3 separate regions of the Homo sapiens genome follow, and regions 1 and 3 are each linked to region 2. Evidence: promoter capture Hi-C in human tissues and cell types (Jung and others, 2019). All regions are on one chromosome and are shown on one strand. The core of a region is centred on a gene start or on the middle of the fragment in contact, and the rest is flanking DNA. Distances in the headings are between cores, read along the strand shown.

What was found. Contacts are between HindIII fragments. The study calls those that stand out against the background at their distance.
Region 1: a contact is called between a fragment that was not itself captured here and the fragment with the promoter of HLF in region 2, in 1 of the 25 tissues and cell types used here (thymus).
Region 3: a fragment that was not itself captured here is called in contact with the fragment with the promoter of HLF in region 2 in 2 of the 25 tissues and cell types used here (dorsolateral prefrontal cortex and liver).

The regions. Positions count from the first base shown.
Region 1 is chr17:55,201,410-55,206,104 of GRCh38, forward strand. It overlaps a transcript of STXBP4 not described here. Among named protein-coding and RNA genes, the nearest start is that of HLF, 61 kb to the right of the region's middle. The HindIII fragment of the contact is 5,408 bases long and covers 700-4,695 here.
Region 2 is chr17:55,262,415-55,266,765 of GRCh38, forward strand. HLF (HLF transcription factor, PAR bZIP family member) reads left to right here and starts at 2,546. Exons shown (of 4, transcript NM_002126.5): 1 at 2,546-3,185. The coding sequence starts at 3,071. RefSeq lists a silencer at 2,350-2,669. The HindIII fragment of the contact is 14,198 bases long and covers 1,358-4,351 here.
Region 3 is chr17:55,304,408-55,308,803 of GRCh38, forward strand. The region is part of intron 2 of HLF (HLF transcription factor, PAR bZIP family member); the gene reads left to right. Among named protein-coding and RNA genes, the nearest start is that of HLF, 42 kb to the left of the region's middle. The HindIII fragment of the contact is 3,820 bases long and covers 1-3,160 here.

The DNA.
Region 1 (4,695 bases), core at 2,154-4,653, 60 kb before region 2:
GAGAGGAGGGGAGGGAAGGAGAGGAAAGGAGGGAAAGGGAGGGATGGGAAGCAAAAAGAGAAGAGCTACGTTCCAAGATGCCAGTGTCTTGTGTTATTAATAAAAATAAATTTAAAGATCAAATTTCTTTTTCAATATTAAGATACCTAGTAATTACAGCATTTCTCATTCCCATCAGCTTCCAATTCTCTTCTCAGCATGCCTAGGAAATTTGAATACATTCCAGGAAAGAAGTCCAATCAAGACGTTACTGCTAAGGTCGTAGCAAAGGAAATGTTCACAGCAAAGACAGGGACGACCAAGGTAAGTCTCACTAGGAGATCTGCTCTCTCTGTATTTGCTTCATCAGCAGTTTTTCTTTCACATTTAAATGTTTGAGCAGAGAACTATGCTCCACGAGCAAGAACCCAGCAAGGCTGAGCATGCATGAACACAGTTAACTTTTGTCACCAAATGCAGCTTGCAGCAAATTTAATCTGAAACATACTTCATAATGTTAAGAGTGCTTATTATGTTGCAGGGTGATTAGCATAAACAGTAAACAATTCACAAAGATGAAATTACATTTACATGGTGGAATTGAATGTTTCTCCTTTTCTCTTGTCCTTTATTCTTTAGTATCATTTATATCAGTACAATAATTTACCTTTAATTTGTTCAATATAGTCAAGACATGTAGATATGGGACACACACACACACACACATAGTGCCAGAGTCAATTCACAAGCTAGGGCACCTTATGCCCCACACTCATATCCTCTTGTTCACCATTACTCAAATTTCTACTCCTCCTCTACCAACTCAGCCTTTCCACAGTCTGCTCTTATGGTCTCTCAATCTTGAACACCTGATTCATATATATATGTTTCTCACCCCCAGGTCTGATCCCTTACATGCTTGAGAGTCCAAGATAAAATCAAAGGAAATATAAACAGGTATTGAGTAGGACTAAACAGGTAGGACCTGTTACCACAGGTATTAGTTTATTATTAATACCACAGGTATTAATTTCACAAAATTAAATGACATTTAATTAAATGACATTTAATTAAATGATGTCATTTAATTTTGTGAAAACCTAACCAGTATGACACTGCACATATTATTATAAACACAGAAGTTTTGGTTTAAAGGGTGTCTTGCTCAGGGCAACACAGGTAGTAAGAGGAATAAAACTGGCCAGGAATTCGGACTGCCAATTCTATGCTCTTTCTATGTGAACACAGAAAAGCTCTTGAGAATGGGTTTGAAGATAGTCTTGAAAGGATTTAATAGGCATTGTTTAATAGGCGTGGTTTATTTCTGACCAGCATCTTATCCCTTGAGATCCTACCTTCCCTGACTTTATGTGATTCCATTGGTGATGGAAATTATTGATCTTTCTCTAATCATTTCTTGTTCTTCCCCAAAAGCTGGGTACATGCTTCAAGGTTGTTCAATCTTTTTACTACATTCCTTTAACACTTTAAGTAGTCTGGAGGATGGGCATAAGAGCCAAGAAAGGTCATTCAGCATTCATGTCTCCAGAAAACGATCATTGGACTATAGGAAAAAGCTTCATTTTTCCACTAAGTTTGCTAAACTGGAGCAATATTTTTCTAGAGCTGCTGGAAGTTGTATTTCCTGGCTGCAGGAAGGAGCTCATCTGCTGTAGTTGAGAAAAAGGCAGAAAGACCAGATGGCATGCTCTTTCACTTCTTTATGCTTTTGCACATATGGGTCTCTATTTCTAGAACACCTGTTTTGCTTTTCCCTCCAAAAAGGAAAATATAGCTAACTCCTAATCCTATCAGGTTTTTGTTCCTTTAGGAACTAGGTCCTCTTCCCCTGTGCTGAGGTAGATGTTCCTGCCCTATACTCGAATAGAATCTTATGTTTACACCTATAATTGAAGTTATCACAGCGCATTGCAATAACTGTCTATTGTCTTTTCCACCCTCTTTATGAAGAGCTCCTCATGGAGAGTAAGCAAGTCATAGTTATCATTGCATTGATGTCATTTTAAAAAAACGACAGCTACATAATAGATGCTCATTGTTTGTAGAATGGGTGGATGGTAGGGGATCTAAGGTGAGTTTGAAAATTGTTTCTCAAACTTCAGAAGTTATTGAAAATTATCCTACACAAACAAGTGGAGGAAAATTTAGCTCCAAAAGTCCTGAAATTCTAAATTCTCTGAAATTAACATGAGTAAAACTAGACCCAGTGAAAATTATAAGCAGATACATTTTAGCACAATATAAGAGGAAAATTTCTACCAATCATACACATCCTCTAATAGAACTGATTATTTCACAAACTGACCAAAGGTGTTCAAGAAAGGAATGCTATATGTTTCAAGATTTTAGTGTCATTATTTCATTATCTTCTGGCTTCCATTATTTCTGTTAAGAAGTTGGCCATCAGTCTTTCTTGTGCCTTTGAAGGTGATCTTTTTTTTCTTACTTCATTTCACTGGTTTTAAGATTTTTCTCTTTATCTTTGGTAATTATTAGTTTTAGTGTGTTCTGTACAGAGATATTCTTCTTTGTTACTCATTATTGGAGTTTATAGCACTTCTTGAAAATGTGATTTGATTTTTGGGGTCATTTTTGGAAAATCTCATCCAATATCTCTTTAGACATTCTTCTGTTCTATTTTATTTTTTATTTCTTTTTTTTGGACTTCAGCTGTATATATGACCTTTTCATCATGTTCCCCTGTCCTTCTATTTTTAATGCTATTCTCTTGCTGTATTATTCTTGGTATTTTTTTCTGACCTATCTTCCAGTTCACTAATTGTCTCTTTAGCTGTGGTTAATTTGGTGTTAAACTATTTAGTTCTTAATTTCAGTTACTATATTGTTTAGTTCTACAGTTTTTTTTATTCTTTTTCATAGTCTCCAGTTCTCTGCTTAAATTCTCCATTTTGTCATCCAATTTCTTGAATGTATTAATTATACTCAGTTTAAAGTTTATTCCTGATAAACTCTAACATATAGATTACTTGTGAGGCTATTTCTGTGATCTGCTTTTTTATGTGCTTTTTGATTAATTCTTACCTTTTTTGCCTGCCAGGTTTTAAAAATTGAACTCTAAATATTGTGTGTAAAAAATTACACAGATAATCAGAGCTATAAAAGATATTATCTTTCTCAGGAAGAATTTACTTTTGCTTGAGACAACAGTCACAATAAAAGTAGATCACTTACTCACCTTAATCCCTCCTTAGTCCCCCTTGGTGGGCCCTGATCTCAATTTTTAGCAATGTCTCTCCTATATGAATAAAAAAGAAAACTCTAATTAGTTTTTCAGGCACCAAATGACACCAGTTGGGCTCAACTATATGAACCTACTTTTCTCTGGGTTTCTGCTTGCTCAAGTACTGGCTGCATTGGTATCTCTTCAATGCCTTCAAGATTAAACACACACACACACACACACACACACACACAAACACACATACCCCTTCAAAAAGGTATCAATCTAGAGCTACATACACATATACATCTATATTTCTTACTGTCTTGGCAGTTCTCCAATACCTTCAAGAACTATTGAATAACTACCAAACATACTATTTTATATTATATATATGTTGTCCACCCTTTTTAGTAGTTCTTAGCAGGTAAGTTTGTCTAAACAAATTAGCTTGCCATGGCCAGAAGTGAAATTCCACTATGTTGGAGTTTGACTGGATAAATCTTAAACTTTATCTGGAAGAGTAAATGCAAGAGAATAGCCAAGGAAATTTTTGTTTAATTCAGGAGAATTTGTCTTTATATTATAAAGTTTTAGTAATAAAACCACATGACAGTGAGACAAGAATAGAGAAATAGATCTATATAACAGAGAAAGGTATCAAGAGATGTTGGTTATATTATATATTTATTATAGTACTTTTTAAATATTATATAAAAGGAAGCATTTGCCATCATATAAAATGAATGTCAGATGAATTAAAGATCTAAAGATTCAAACAATCATAATGTTGAAGTAGAAAAGCCTTTCGTAGGTTAGCACACAAAGTAAAAACAAATGACAGATTTGTCTACATTATATAAAACTTGTATAGGGCAAAAGATACCATAAGCAGTGTTAAAAGGTAAACATATAAACAACAAACTGGGAAAGACATAAACAGCAGACAAATGCACACACACACACACACAAACACACACACACATATACACAAAGTGGGACAGGTGAAGAGACAATTTACATAAAAGGTACTAGAAATAGCCAATAAACCCATTGAAAAATGTTCAACCTCATTGTATTAAAAAAATCTGAGAAACAAAATAAGAGTTTTCTAATATTTTAGATTGACAAATATTTATATATATTTTTGGCAAGGCTGTGAAAATATAGGATCTCATATACTCTTGGTGGGAAGACAAACTGGTACAAATCTTATGGAAAGCTACTTTACAATATTTATCAAACTTTAAAACATTCATATCATTTCACTTCTAGGAGTTTCCTCCTACAAAAATATTGGCACTTGGGTAAAAGACATATACTGAAGCATTATTTCTAGCAGTATAAAATTGGAAATTACCTAAATGTCCCTAAGTAAAAGAATGGTTAATTAAATATTCGTGAATATATTAAATAGTATATTATATACTTATTAAAATGCATAAGGCAGGTCTATACTTATTATCATAAACTCTATATTGATTAGTGAGAAAAGCAAATTATAAAAATTTTAT
Region 2 (4,351 bases), core at 1,296-3,795:
AATTCAGAGGGTCTTACTACCCAACCAATATAACCTTTGGTTTCTTCTATCCCTCTCCTTCCTCTTGAGCAGCCATCCACAACTGCTTCTGGGGAAGAGAGAGAGAGAAAGAGAAAGAAAGATGTTCATGGTTTGTTAAAAAAATAAAAGAAAATAACATTTACAAATGGCCAGAGTAGAAAAGATGTACCAATTTCATTTATCTTGTTAAGGAATGGGGCTAGATTGAAGATTAGCCAATGCTTATAATTTTTGAGGCTCTAAGAAATACCTTTGAAGTTAGAGAAGGATGGAGAGAAGTGAGAGGGAGTCACCATGGTCTAAGGGGCTGGTCCTCAATCTGGTCCGTGACATGTTGATCAGGCTCAGGGAAATTAAATTAAATGAACCAAATTCCCAAGAAACTGCTTGATCAACCAGAACGCCAGTTTATCCACTTGCAATGAGAAATGCAATTTCCAAGCCACAGTATTTGGTTCTGTCAGGTGGTAAGGAGAAGATTACCCTGGGAAACCAGATTACTTGACCTGGTAAGAGTTTCATGTCTGGAAACATGGGGAAGTGAGGACATGCGGAGAATCATGAGCAGGTGGAGCACTTTGGGCGTGCTGAGTAATGTCAGTGGACTGTTACACAAAGCTTAGGTAACGCATCTTTCATGCACCTGGAATCTGCAATCTAACAGATTTCTAACCAGGCTGAGAGGATGCTCTCAGTCCTGCCAGTTTATGGACTTACAGGGATGTAAGGAACTCAAGACAGGGAAATAGCCTCTGTCTCCAAAAGGATAGCGGAGATGAGGTCCCTTTTTTATTTTTTAAAAAAACAATATAATATAATTGATGGATTCAGACCGTTCACGAGAGACTATTACCTCCACGCCCAGCTCAGGCACCTTCTCTAGAATCCCTTTCCTAATAATGTAAGTGCCCCTGTCACCTCCATCTATCCATTTTTGTTCTTTTAAGCCTATTTTATATTATTTGCTTATATGCCAAACCCTAAACGATGAGTTCTTGAAGGTTAAAATTATGTTTTATTCATCTTTTTTCACTAGCCCCCGCATAGTCGCTGGCATACATACCGTGGTGCTCAATAAATGCATGTGGCATTAACTAAAAGTTTGCTGTTTCTGGAATTCGTCTGAAACCTGAAACACTGCAACAACATCTCACTTAGAATGTTGCCTTACCCTTTTGCCATAATTTTAGAGTGAGGAAGTAGAGGTCACTAGATTACGTGTCCTTTTATGAAGAACCTACAGCTCAGGGCAGAAAGGCACTTGCCGGAATCACCCTGCCAGGGAACTCTGAACCCCGCTGCGCCGCCGCTCCTGATCTCTGGGGTTTCAGGCGCCTCCTCTCTTACAACCCTCTCCTGGGGAAGTAAACCCCATCAAGACACCACCACATCCTTCCCCAGCGACTCAGCCTGGGGTCACAAAGGCCTTTACGTCCCACTGAAAAACGGTTTTCTTTCATTTGTGCCCATTCGTTCTTGCAGCCCCTTCCCCAGATCGAAGACTAGGGTCTTAGTAAGGAGAGGTAAGGAGGGAGGGGAAGAACCTGCCTGGCCCCCCGCGGAGCTCTGCAGGGGGCGTCGCGGCTGCACGCCAGCGCCCGCACCACCCCAGGCGGGAAGGGAGTTATCACACAGGGGGTCGCACGCAGATCTCGGGGACCGTGGGTGCCACGAGGTCAAACTGGCAGAGGGAGACGCTGCAGCTGCTGTAACAGCAAGGAAAGCCGAAGCCCCCTTAGGGGATACTTTACAAAATTATTTTAATCACCGTGCAAACCTAATAACTTGACCCAAGCGCAATCACCTGTATTCACCCAGAGTAAATATTCCTAAAATCCCGTTCAGTGTGTCTGTGTCTCTCCCGCCTCTTTCCGTTTCAGGCAAATGTCTACCCCCCCTCTCCCCCCACCGTTAACACCTCTCTGCAGCGTGGGAAACAGTGCCCAGCAGCTCAGTCCTCCGCTTCCCGCTCTGCTTTTTGCATCCCATTCGGACTTATAGGAAGTAGTTATTTTTTGGTGGTGGTGGAAACTGGGCAAGAAAGAAGACGCTAAGCTTGGCCGGGGCCAGGAGAAATATTGAGAAGGGTCGTTACCTTCCATCCGATCTAAACCAATCATCTCAAACTTGGCTACTCTTTGGAACCACCTGGGGAGCTTTAAAAATTATGGACGCCCTGATAGCACCGCAGAGGTTCTGATCTAATTGATCTGGGATGCGGCCTGGGTATCGCGATTTTTTTAAAACTCCTCAGGTTATTCCCAGCTTGAAAACTATGGATATAAATTTCTCATTCCTCTTCCCACCCAGACCAAAAAAAAAAAAAAAAATCTAAGCCTAAGTTGATGGCCCAGGGAATCTGGCACCTGCTCCCCTGCAACCAGCCAGTGCTGCAAGGTCCCCGAAAATCGGCGCGAGCGGCGACGCTAAACACGCGGCGGCGGGGCGAGCGGGCCAGGCGGGCGGTGCCGCGCGTGGCCCCGCCCCCGCACGCCTATGGGCGCGAGGTGCGGGCCCTGACGTCACTCTTGTCAGGGCCGCGGCACATGGGCGGCCGGATGCGCTGAGCCCGGCGCTGCGGGGCCGCGGAGCGCTGGGGAGCAGCGGCCGCCGGCGCGGGGAGGGGGGTGGGGTGGGACGGCGCACCGCCTCCGGTGCTGGCACTAGGGGCTGGGGTCGGCGCGGTGTCTTCTGCCCTTCTGCAGCCGTCGACATTTTTTTTTCTTTCTTTTTTTCAATTTTGAACATTTTGCAAAACGAGGGGTTCGAGGCAGGTGAGAGCATCCTGCACGTCGCCGGGGAGCCCGCGGGCACTTGGCGCGCTCTCCTGGGACCGTCTGCACTGGAAACCCGAAAGTTTTTTTTTAATATATATTTTTATGCAGATGTATTTATAAAGATATAAGTAATTTTTTTCTTCCCTTTTCTCCACCGCCTTGAGAGCGAGTACTTTTGGCAAAGGACGGAGGAAAAGCTCAGCAACATTTTAGGGGGCGGTTGTTTCTTTCTTATTTCTTTTTTTAAGGGGAAAAAATTTGAGTGCATCGCGATGGAGAAAATGTCCCGACCGCTCCCCCTGAATCCCACCTTTATCCCGCCTCCCTACGGCGTGCTCAGGTCCCTGCTGGAGAACCCGCTGAAGCTCCCCCTTCACCACGAAGACGGTGAGCGCTGCCGCGGCCCCGCTCCGGGAAGGGACGACGCTCCGGGGGTCCCCCTCCGCGGCCGGGCACGCCCGCTGGAGCATCCCCCAACCCCGCTCCCGCCCTGTCCCGCGGCGCCCCGGCCCCGCGCTGATGAAATTGAGGAGCTCACCCAGCACCCTTCCTCCCCTTCCTCCTCCTCCATGAAAGGGGAGGGACCCCTCCTGAGCTACATTTAAAAGAGCTTCGGGCACCCGGCCTCCCTGGGTCCCGCTCCTGCGGCGCGGGTGGGAGGTGTAACTTGACAGGTCAGGATCGTTCCCTAGAACGAGGCACACCCGCACGCAGAGCGAGCCCGCCTGCGGAGGGCAGAGCCTCCCGGGCTGGGGAGGAGAAACCCTGGGGCCTGGTTCTGTGCGGGGCAGGGGGCGGGGGTCGGCTTGAGGGAGGGGGTTTCACTGCGTAGCCTGGGTTTTGGGGTTGTGTTACAGCTTCTGTTACTGGTTAGTATTTGGAACTCACGAGGTGTGAGAGAAGACTCGTTTTCTTCTGGTGAAGGGTAGCTGAGAAAGCGGGGTGGGGGCTGGGGCCGGTGGGGGGAGTGGTCTCTCGGCGGGAAGCCGTGCACGCCTCCAGCGTTGACACTTTCCCGGTGCACTTTTTCTGGTGGGAGGGGAGAGCGGAGCAGGCTCACGTGTAACCGCGCAGGAGCCTCCTCTGGCTTGAGCCCTTTCTTGGTAAGTCCCAAACCTTCCCAAGACAACCTTGGCCTTAGCAGTAGAGGAGGGGTACGTGTGATGAGGCCCCAAACCCGGCTAAGTGATGCCACGGATTTGGGTTGATGCGATTTCATGCCTTCGGTATCACAGTAGCAAATGCGAACCGTGCGGCTCACAGTGTAAAGTTCTGAAAGGTTATTTGGCTACAAATAGCTTGGGAGTACTTGCACCTTCTTTTCTAGGAGAGGACAACCTGTTGCATTGCAAGAGTTTGCAATCTGCAGATGATAGCCAGGGACCCCTCCCTAACTATCCTTTAAGGAAGAGCATTTGGGAGGAAGGGGCTGCCTGCAGGCTTTTGCATCTGTGGGTGTTTTAAGTCAGATTTTCAGATGAGATGGTAGAGGGTTAGAATGGATGGCAGTGGAGGCTGTGTTTCTCTGAAGATGAAACTCAGAAGCAAATTCC
Region 3 (4,396 bases), core at 1-2,500, 41 kb after region 2:
TGTACCCCAACTTAACTGACTTCTAACCGGCTGTGGTTATGAGTTCCGCTGGTCTCACCTTTCAGTGGGTTCAAGGGGGCAGATTTTGCTGACACCATAGGCAAGGAAGCATGATGGTAAACACCACTGGAATGAGAGGCCTTGTTAATCCAGCCCAAGCTCCTGCCAAGTTAGAAGCTGAGGAGTCTAGTCTGGGCCACTTTGAGTACTGATGCATGATCCCAGGGCGATGTGCTGTTCTGGGCACAGGGTCACACTGGGTGACATCTAACAGGCTTTGCTTGGGCTGTAGCTAGAGGGAAATGGGAGCTGGGGAGTGTGACAGGAGGGAAGTGTGGACTCTCCACCTACCAAGGGGCCTTCCCACATACTGTCCATCCCATTCAGCGCCCTGAGGTGGGCGTCATTTCTCCCACTTGACAGATAAGGGAATCAGACCATGAGGCAGAGTAACTGGCCCCAGGCCACACACAACTACGTAGTGTCAGAGTCATGATGAATCCTGTTTGTCTACACCTTCTGATGAACTGAGCTACCTCGTGCAGGACAGGCCCAAGGAAAGGGGCTCAGGCCAGAGTGGGAGCATTGAAACAGGGTTCAAAATGTCTGTCTGCCCAAACCAAACGTTAATTTGCATACTAATAGTTTAAGGGCATAGATATAATACAGACCTCCCCCAAGAAGTGACCTTTGAAGCCAACTTCTTCTTCATGTGACGGAATACATCAGACACCCTGTCTGCCGGGAATCCTTACCCTTCTCCTAGTGAGCCGTGGTCTCTGGCCTATCCAGAAGCTCCTTAAAAATACTAGTGCATGAGATGTAGCATTGACAGGAGCCCTGGCCTGTGGGTCAACAGTTGCTTTGTCAAATGCAATCTTGCCCTTGGCACAGCTCGCCATTCAGGAGGATGGAGGAAGTGGACGAGAGAGAGGGAGGTAAAAGAAGGGAGGGAAAGGAAGCAGGATGCCTGGCTGCCTGGAGCTTCCTTGGGCTCTTGTCCATGAGAGGAAGCCATACCTACCTCTCTGGGGTTTGCCAACTCTTGTCCAGGAACCTATTGGGCTAGAGTGGAGGGGAACTGCAGAGTCTCCCCTTCCTTTCTCTTCTGCCCCCATGAGGAGGAAGTGAAGTGGAGCAGAAAGAGCGTGGGCTATGGTTGAGCCCACTGGAGTCTGCACTCCACCCAGCCTCCCCCTGGCTTTCTAGCTGTATGACTTTAAGCAGGTGGTTTCACCCCCTCTCCCTCTCCACTTTTTCCTCTTTAAAATGTGGGATACAGTGCCCGCCTCGCAGAGGCTGATGGTTCTGTGGAGTGTTGTGCACAAGGCTCCAGCCCAGGTCCTGATGCAGGACTCTCATTCTGGAAGGCTGGGTGCCTGGCTCTCCTTGGGGCACAATTAGGCTTCCTGGCTGCATTCCTGGGGCATTCGCATGAAAAAGAACATGGGCTTTAGAGTGAGAAGGATGGGGAGATGAGTCTCTGTTTTTCCATCTGCGTGGGCAAATTATTTAGCATATCTGAGCTTGTCTTAAGCTTTCTGTTTTCTATTCCTTTATTTCCACATATGGAAAATGGGTATATGAACTATTCTGCCTTCATATAGCTATTGTGACAATTAAATGAAGTAATCTCTGAAGAACCTTACTATCAGTATTACTGATATTACCAGAGAGGTGGCTCATGTTTGTAATCCCAGCATTTTGGGAGGCCAAGGTGGGAGCATTGTTTGAGCCCAGGAGTTCAAGGTTTCAGTGAACTATGATCACGCCACTACACTGCAGCCTGGAGACAGAGCAAGATCCTGTTTAAAAAAAAAATTGCTGATATTGATTATTCAGTAGGCCAGGGAAGCCCGTCTACCAGCCTACAGGACGTCATTGCATTCACCTTCTCAGTAAATGGCAACAGACTCTTTTCCTAATGTTTACACGTAATGGATTGAACTGGCTTAGCATCATGCTTTACCCATATTTCTGTTGACAGCCTGTTACTGTGTGGAGAGAATTGCTGGATAAGAGCCACTGAGATCAAAGGGATCTTTACAATGGGCCTTTCAGTATATTTGTTCTGTAATCATGGACTGAAAACTTACTGAGCACTTGCCATCTGAATGAGGCAAAAAGGAAGTGTGTGTGTGTGTGTGTGTGTGTGTGTGTGTGTGTGTATGCATGTGTATGTGTATGCATGATTTGTTTTTGCCTTAAAATTAGTACATCAACCGTGTAATGTGCAGGACATTTAAAATATGTCAGAGCTATGACAGGTTCCCAGCTACTGGGATCCAGGACACCTTCCAATTTCATCTTTGGCTAAGACTTTCTATCTCTTTTTTCTTCTTCTTTCTTTCTCCCCCTCCCTTTTGATGCCTTTCTTTCCTTCCATAATACCTTTCTTTATTCTTTCTTTATTTCTTCTTTGATTCATTCTTGTATTTCTTCTTGGTTTCTTAATTCCTCTTTCTTTCTCTTCCTTTCCTCCCTGCTGCCCAATACACTTCTGACCTCAGGGCATAGATGCATTGAAGGGCATCTGCTGCTGTGGCCTTTTGGATGGGAACCCTGTAGATCTCAGCTAGGTTGGTTTATCAGCTATAATGTATTCCTTGATTTGGTAAAACAGCCAGCAGCAGAGCAACATGCTTTTACCTCCTCTTTTTTTTTTTCCTCATCCCATTTCCTCCCTCTCTTTGGTTTCTTCTTCCTTTCAAGGGGGTTGAATGGTCTCCTCTCAGCGGCCTTTTTTTTTTTTTTTTTTTTTTTTGAGACGGAGTCTGGTTCTGTCACCCAGGCTGGAGTGCAGTGGCGCAATCTTGGCTCACTGTAGCCTCCACCTCACAGGTTCAGGTGATTCTCCTGCCTCAGCCTCCCAAGTAGCTGGAATTACAAGCGTGCGCCACCATGCCCAGCTAATTATTTATTATTATTATTATTATTTTTTAATAGAGACAGGGATTCACCGTGTTACCCAGGGTGGTCTCGAACTCCTGGCCTCAAGTGATCTGCCTGCCTTGGCCTCCCAAAGTGCTGGCATTACAAGCATGAGCCACCATGCCCAGCCTTCTCTCAGTAGCATTTAACACAGACTCCTGGAACATACATGCACAAAGTGAAAAAAATAACATTTTTAATTTCTGATTTTGAAAGTGAAGATCCTCATTATAGACAATTTGCAAAATATTGAAAATAAGAATTAAAATTTGCCCCTGTTCCTCCCAAAAGTCCCTGTTAGGATCTGGGGGGTGTTATGTCCAGCTGCTCAGTAGCTCGTGCTGTCCCCTCCATGCAGGTTCCATCTAGAATCTGGGGCAGCAGCAGGTAAGGCCAGGTCACTGTTCTGTGGGGCTTACATGGGAGTGGAGGGAAGAGATCAGCAATATCAAACAAATAAAAAAGATCGTTTGGGATGGAGATAAATATTGTAAAAAAAAAAAAAAAACATCAAACAGAGTTGTTTGATGGGTATTGAGCAGGGGTAGAGGAAAGTCAGAGGGTTCGAGGAATTGGCATTTATGCTAATGTCTACATAACGTAGGAGGACTAGGTAGGCAGAGAGCAGAGGAAGAATGCTTTAGGTAGAGAGGAAACTAAATACAAAGGCCTGGGTGGGATCACATTCAGGGGACGCAAGGAGCAGAAGGAAGGCCAGTGTGGCCAAGTGTGTGAGTGAGGTAGAGCCGTGGATCTGATCATATGTGGCAATGGGAAGCCTTGGGAGGGTTTGATATGGAGATGTGACCCACACGGGTCTGCATGTTTAGAATTATCACAGTGTACCGCTGTGGAGACGTGGGAGATAGAAAAGGGATAATGGTTAAAAGTTGCAGTAGTTCAGAGGACAGACAGTGCTGGCTTAGACAAGGGGAATAGTCTGTTTATTTGATTTACTTTCAAGTATCTCTGAACTATTATCTGTATTTTGTATATGTGTTTATATAGAGACCATTTATTGCACACTTTCCGGGTACTACAGATTGTGCTAAGCACTTTGTATGTATTATCTAGTTCATTTTTCACATAGAATCAGGCATAGTAATCTCCTTTTACACATAAGGGAATTGAAACTCAGGTAGGTTAAGAAAAGAAGGGGGAAAAAGTCAACGATAGTCCCTTTCCCCAATACAGACCTTATTAGGATTTAGAGGGGCATTTTTTGGGGGTCATTTATTTACAAAGGCCCAAGTTTATAACATACAGGTGACAGAATCAGCATTCAGACCCAGGTCTGACTCACTTCACAGCGTAAAACGACTGTCCTGTACAAATTTAAATCCTGCTATAATGTTATTGTGGGTGTAAACACTCTCCCCCTATGCAATAACTCAGCTTATAGGTCAGTCTCCATTGCAATGAGAATGTTTACCAGACAATCACAGAAACTCACCGTACACAAATA